2 separate regions of the Homo sapiens genome follow, and region 1 is linked to region 2. The links are contacts of gene promoters, found by promoter capture Hi-C in human tissues and cell types (Jung and others, 2019). All regions are on one chromosome and are shown on one strand. The core of a region is centred on a gene start or on the middle of the fragment in contact, and the rest is flanking DNA. Distances in the headings are between cores, read along the strand shown.

Region 1 (3,655 bases), core at 354-2,853, 200 kb before region 2:
CCAAGAGTGTTTGGCTTCATTTGTTTAGAAAGTTTTAAAAGTAGGAGCCAATGTTAGAAACAACGAGATTTCCCATAAAAGTTAGGAATTTGTGTTTATCATTAGATGTATCACGATGGGCTGGGCCCAGCGCTCAGGACACCTACTCTCCAGGCGGCCCGGACCCCACCAGGCTGCCCCGACTTTATGTACCAGCAGGTCCCTGGAGTGTGTGACTGCCACCCTGAATGCCATCACACTGCAGCACAGGCAGTTTCCCCCCCACAGGGACACACACACACACACACACACACACACACACACAGGCCATGCCCACCCACCCACAGGCTCAGAGCTCCCCTGGCCCCCATCCCAACCCCTGGGGACCCCTCTGGGCACACCTGCTCCTGTCCACTATCCTCTCCCGCTGTCACATCTCCTCCCCTCAGGGACCCAGGCCCTTCCTCGCCCCAGAGAGGCAGCTGGCCAGAAGTCTGGGGACCCCAGGCCCTTGGCTGTTCTGTCTCCCTGAGAAATCAGGGTCGAGTAGACAGACATACCTCCCCTCCTGTCCCTCCTGCTGTCCTTCCCTCAGCCCCCAGGATGGAGACTCCAAGCCTTCACTGCCAGCTCTGTTTCGGACAGCAACAACCATGCCACCTGTGCCTGGTCCTTGTCCTCAGGGTGTGGCAAGGCCATGGGGGCAGAGGAGAAGCCCTGTCCCTGCTCCTGGGAGTCACCAGGAGCCCCAGAGCCCCAGTCCCAGCCAGAGGGCCACCCCAGAGGCTGAGCCATGGGAAAGAGGGCGGATGCTGCAGGAGGTGGCAGTGTTGGGCACAGCCCTGGGGCTGGTGGGTGAGGCCTGTAGAGCTTCCTGAAGGAAGGCGCCTGGGGCTGACTTTGGGAGGAAGGCAGGCCTGTGCTTGGCCAAGAGAAAAGGAAAATCAGGGACTCCCCAGCCCCAGATGGACTGTGGCACCGCATAGAGCAAGCCCTGCCTGGAGCCGGGATGGCGTCTGCCTCTCAGGGTGGCTTTTAAAAGTAGGAGCCAATGTTAGAAAGAACGAAATTTCACATAAAAGTCAGGAATGTTGGTTTATCATTAGATGCGCCATGATGGGCTGGGCCCAGCACTCAGGCTGGTGTCTACTCCACCTTCTTTGCAAACCCTGGAGGGGCCCAGCCCCAGAGGGCTACCAGCCACTGGCCTCTGCCCACTTCTCCCGCAGGCGCACCCAAGGCGCTCCTCTGGCCTGGAGGTCTGATGGGCACCACCCTTCTCTAGCTGCCCTGCCCCTTGGCTGCCAGCTGCCCCCGGCGCACCCCGGGGAGGCTGGGCACCTGTCCTGCGCAGCGTGGACAGAGGGACCGGGGCCTGTCAGCCTTCAGGGAGGGGAAGGGGAGACAAAAGCCACCGGCCCTGCCCGACCAGCTCCCCTGCGCGGCTGCCCAGCTGGGGCGGGCACTCACCCTCTCCCGGCCAGCCTCGGCTGCTGCTGTGCGCCCGTCCTGGACCTACCTCGGGGCGGACTCGCTCCCTCCGCGCCTGGGCTGCCGCTAGGAGATGGGGCTGCAGCGCGCGGGCGAGCAGGGACTGTCCGAGGGCGGGCGCGGGGGTTGGGGGGGTGGGGACGAGGCGGGCAGCGCTTTATGGGGCGGGCGCGCAGGTAGGAAGGAGGCGCTGGTGAGTCAGACCGGCTGCATTCCTTCGCGCGGCGCGCACCTGTCGGGGCAGGAGCTGGGTGCCGCCGCCGGAGCCGGGTCCGCCCCCCGGAAAGGGCTGCGGCTCCCGCGGCGCCCGCCCAGCGCCCCGATCGGCTAGCGGCGGGGGCCGGGGGAGGAGCCACCGCTCTCCCTCTCCCTCCGGTCCGGCCCTGGGCGCGGGGCCTCCCCACCCCTCCAGGCTCCGGGCTCCAGGCTCGGGTGCGCGGACTGCCCCGGGCTGGAGGCGGCCTCTTAGCCCCCGTCCGCACGGGAACCCTCCCTGCCCCGACTCTGGGCCGCTAGCCAACGCCGGGCTGTGCTGCTGCTGCTGCCCCGACGGTCGTCAGCCGCGTACCCCCCTCCCCGCTCTCCGTGCCAGCGCGAGGCATGGGCCCAGGGAGTGCCCCCGGCCCGGTCGGGAGGCCTGACTCCCCGTCCCAGCTCTGCTCTGCAGTTCACGGGGTCCTCTCAGCCTCCAACCCCTAACCTCACGTTGTATCCAGAGGGAGAGCCGAGGAAGGGTCGGGTCCTCGGTGCACCCTTCAACAAGCTACTTAAATCTCCTTACAGTGTGAACAGTGATACCCTGGAGAGGTCAGTGCCGACCTGGCATGGATTGGCACTCGATGCCTTGTTACAGTTGTTCTTAACAAGCTGGTTACAGAGCTGGCCCCTCCCTCCCGTCAGTCCTCTGAGAGCAGTCTCTCCATTGCCACTGCTTACCACGGGTGTTCAGGTCAGAGAAGGGCTTCATTTTTCTTTTTCTTTTTGTTTTCTCTCTCTTTTTTTTTTTAGATGGAGTCTCACTCTGTCGCCGAGGCTGGAGTGCAGTGGTGCAATCTTGGCTCACTGCAACCTCTGCCTCCCGGGTTCAAGCGCTTCTCCTGCCTGTTTCCCGAGTAGCTGGGATTACAGGTGCCCGCCACCACGCCCGGCTAATTTTTGTATTTTTAGTACATCATGTTGGCCAGGCTGGTCTCGAACTCCTGACCTCAGGTGATCCACCCGTCTTGGCCTTCCAAAGTGCTGGGATTATAGGCGTGAACCACCATGCCCAGCCAGGGCTCCATTTTTCTCTAGGCTTACTGGCCAGCAATGCCAAACAACACCAGACTGCTGGCACAGCACTGTCCAAACCATGCGGTTTCAAGCCACCGTGCTTTTTCAACAGGCTGGTCCCTTCCCATGACATTGAGCCCAGTTTATCCTTCTTGTCCTTGAAGACGTTGCACCAACCACGTGCTAGAGAGCCTTCCTTGACCTCTCCACACCCCAAGTTGGTTTATGTGTCCCCATAACCCTTGGGCCATGGCTTTTACATGGCATTTGCCACATTGGTTTGAAATGATGTTTAGGAATCTCGCCACACTGTTGGACTGTGACTCCAAGGGCAGCTACTCTCTAGCACCTAGCACCATGCCTGGTGCATAGCAGGTGCTCAATAAAAGGGTGGTTGAGTGAATGGGATGGTCACACAGCCTCCCTGAGCCTCCATGCTGTCATCTGTAAACAGATTCCTCCACTGCTACCTCTCAGAGTGATTGCAGGGGTGCTGGTTGCAAATGTGTGAGTCGCCACCTTTCCTGGTCATCTGAGAGCTGTTCTGCACAGAGAAAGTGTTCAGAGAGGCTTGCTCCTGGATTTGGGAACAATGTGGAAGGAGTCCCAGTTTGGTTGAAGCACTCAGATCTGTGTGTGTCAGGCCAGCACAAGTGCCCTGTGGACCTGAGTCACTCCAGCAGGTACCTATCCACCCCAAAAAACAGAAACATGGAGCAGGAGCTCAGAGAACGGCCAAAAACAGCTTGCCTGAGGGGCCTGGGTCTGCCAGCAGCACCCATTAGAGAACTAGGGGGTCATATACACCCCACTGTGGGTGGGGGCTGAGGCTTCTTCCTAGAGAAGACCCAGGTCCAGAGCTGGCGATGCCCCAGGCCACTGGGCTCAGCAGCCCCTTCCTCTCTTCATTGCA
Region 2 (3,253 bases), core at 678-3,177:
ATCGGAGCCACACCCAAGTGCTAAGGCCCTAAGCAGACCCCCATGAGGGGTACAGGCCCAGCCAGGGGGCCCAGCCATGTGCCTCTGCCTAGGCAATGGCCCAGAGGAGCTAGCAAACTTGGTAAATATAGAAAAATAAAAACCTTGGATAACTATTGTTAACATCTTTCTTTCGTTTATGTACACACTAATCTCTCTCCATATATTTTTTTCTAACAAAAATGTCATTGTACTAGCATACTGCTTTGTGATCTTTTTTTTCACTCAATAATATATTGTGGACACAGCCCCGTCACTGCAGCATTCTTCCCTGCTGTGAATTTTTTCCTTTTTCTTTTTTTTTTTTTTTTGAGACACAGTCTCGTTCTCTCACCGGGCTGGAGTGCAGTGGCACAATCTTGGCTCACTGCAACCTCCATCTCCTGGGTTCAAGCGATTCTCCTGCCTCAGCATCCCGAGTAGTACCGGGACTACAGGCGCGTGCCACCATGCCCAGCTAATTTTTGTATTCTTAGTAGAGACAAGGTTTCACCATGCTGGCCGGGATGGTCTCCATCTCCTGACCTCATGATCCACCTGCCTCGGCCTCCTAAAGTGCTGGGATTACAGGTGTGAGCCACTGTGCCTGGCCTCCTGGCTGTGAATTAAGGCTTTAAGGCAATGCTGTTCAAAAAAGAGCCACTAGCGACAGGTGGCTATTTAAGTTTGCTTTTTTTTTTGAGATAGAGTTTCGCTTTTTCGCCCAGGCTGGAGTGCACTGGCAAGATCTCGGCTCACTGCAACCTCAGCTGCCCAGGTTCAAGCAATTCTCGTGCCTCAGCCTCCTGAATAGCTGGGACTATAGGCGCCTGCCACCACACCTGGCTGATTTTTTTTTTTTTTTTTTTTTGGTATTTTAGTAGAGACAGGGTTTCACCACGCTGTCCAGGCTGGTCTCGTACTCCTGAGCTCACGCGATCCGCCCGCGTCGGCCTCCCAAAATGCTGGGATTATAGGCGTGAGCCACCACACCAGCCTATTTAAGTTAGATTTAAATACATTTAAATTAAATGAAATTAAACATTCAGTCCCACAGTTGCTCTAGCCCCATGTATTAGACATCACAGACACAGAACATTTTCATCATTACAGAAAGTTCTATTGGACAGAGCTGCTCTAAGGGATAACCTCTCATTTGTGTGAGCCTGCCTCTTGTTCAACTCTTGTTTGCAAGTACACTGATTTTGCACAGTGAGTGTGTTCTGTGTGACTCCTCACTAAATGCAAGCTCTGTGAGGGCAGTGATTTTGCTCTTCTGTTCTCAGCGATGTGTACAGGGCCTGACCCCCAGCAAATAATAAATATCGTTGATCATTCTCACAGGTGAACCACTGTACACGTCCACGATTATTTCCTTAGGATAGGTTCCACTTTCAGAAAAGAAAAGATGTAGAGCTGGGCGTGGTGACTCATGCCTGTAATCCCAGCACTTTGGGAGGCTGAGGCGGGAGGATCATTTGAGGTCAGGAGTTCGAGACCAGCCTGGGCAACACAGTGAAACCCCATCTGTACTAAAAATAAAATAAAATAAAAAAATTAGCCAGGCATGGTGGCACACGCCTGTAATCCCAGCTACTTGGGAGGCTGAGGCAGGAGAACTGCTTGAACCCAGGAGGCAGAGGCTACAGTAAGCTGAGATCATGCCACTGCACTACAGCCTGGGCGACAGAGTGAGACTCCGTCTCAAAAAGAAAAGAAAAGATGTGCCTGCTTTAGAGCTTTTGTGACATACTGTAACTGCAAAAGCTGTACCCGTTTCCACTCCAAGTCTGAAGGTCTCTGCCTTTTACCAATGCTGGATTACTAAGGTGATGAAGGAAAAAACATTTAACCTGGCATGAAAAATGTGAAACCCTACTAATGGTAAATTCTTCACCCAGTCCTTCATTTAAGCATACACTCTACATACCTGCCTGCGCACCTACTAAGTGCCAGGCACTGTTCCAATCCTGCCTCTCAGTGCTCACACACACTCAGCTGCAGGCGCAGGTCATCTGAAGATGCGGCTCGAGTTCATAAACCAGAATAAAACAAAATGACCTGGATTCCTCCCAACCTGCCTCTCTCAGAACGCTTCCAGCAGGCGCCCCCAGTCTGTGCCCAAGGAACTGCACTCCAGCCAAGGGTTCCAGGTAAGGAGAGGCCATTTTCTACCTTAGACTAGTCAGCCAGGTCCCAGGACTAGAATATATGGAAGGGGAACAGGAAGGGGATTTACCTTGGTTGGAATCGTCGAACCACATAACCCAACCTCTTCAGGTGGCTGAAGACCTCAAAAGAAAAAAAAAAAATGAAAGCTCAGATGGCCACTCTGGAAAACACCAAATGGTTTCTCCAGACACAGGCCATCCCCACAGCCCTCTCTGCCCCTCCTGTACACCCCCAGATTCTAAACCCTGTGATTAAGGTTGGACCATGCTTCATTACGAACACCATCCCTAAAGATCTCAGGCTCTGAATTCCTGTCCTCCCACTTACCTTACTCGGCACAAATGACATTTAGCCAAATCCAAAAAAACTGATAGCCATGAAACCAGAAAACCACCACGCCCTGAAATACTTGAGTATTTTGATACAAAGCTCATAGGAGTGAAGCTGCCGATCACCATGTGAACAAAATGATGGCAGGTGGTGGGCATCTCTCCAGCCCCACACCTCCACAGATGCCGGTGGGAAGTTTCTGGTAGGGAGCCACATATTCAACCTTGTGTCCCTGCATTCATATCAGAGGAACATAGATAAGAATGTCCCCCATCCTGCTTGATCTCAGCAGGCTTTAGCACAGCTAACCACTTCCTCCTTGAAAGACCTTCTTTTGGCTTCTGTGATGCGACTTTGGTTTTTCTCCTGCATCACCAGACACTCCTCGGTCTGTTTCTGCTTCTTATCTGCCCCCTAACCTACACAGAGAGCCCCAGGGCTCAGACCCAGCCCTCTACTCTGATGGCACTCCCATACAGCCCAGTAGTTTAAATACCATCCATGTGCTCATGGCACCCATATTTACATCTAGCCTTGACCTCTCCTCACACTCCAGACTTGGATTCCAATTGTCTGTCTGCTTTACACTCACTTGGATGTCCAAGAAGCTCCTCAAAATTAACTTATCTGACACAGTTCTTTCGACTGGTCTTGTCCTCCCAAATCTGCTCCTCTTCATTCTTCCCACTCAGAAAATGACAGCACCTTCATCCACTGGTGCATGCCCAAATCA

The links. Contacts are between HindIII fragments. The study calls those that stand out against the background at their distance.
Region 1: the fragment with the promoter of ITGB4 here is called in contact with a fragment that was not itself captured in region 2 in 2 of the 25 tissues and cell types used here (bladder and lymphoblastoid cells).

The regions. Positions count from the first base shown.
Region 1 is chr17:75,719,407-75,723,061 of GRCh38, reverse strand. It overlaps ITGB4 (integrin subunit beta 4), which reads right to left and starts at 1,603. Exons shown (of 40, transcript NM_000213.5): 1 at 1,450-1,603. RefSeq lists enhancers at 783-1,321, 1,322-1,860 and silencers at 1,581-1,970, 1,981-2,040. The HindIII fragment of the contact is 11,256 bases long and covers 1-3,655 here.
Region 2 is chr17:75,518,052-75,521,304 of GRCh38, reverse strand. It overlaps TSEN54 (tRNA splicing endonuclease subunit 54), which reads right to left. Exons shown (of 11, transcript NM_207346.3): 6 at 2,258-2,310. Among named protein-coding and RNA genes, the nearest start is that of TSEN54, 3.2 kb to the right of the region's middle. The HindIII fragment of the contact is 6,204 bases long and covers 1-3,253 here.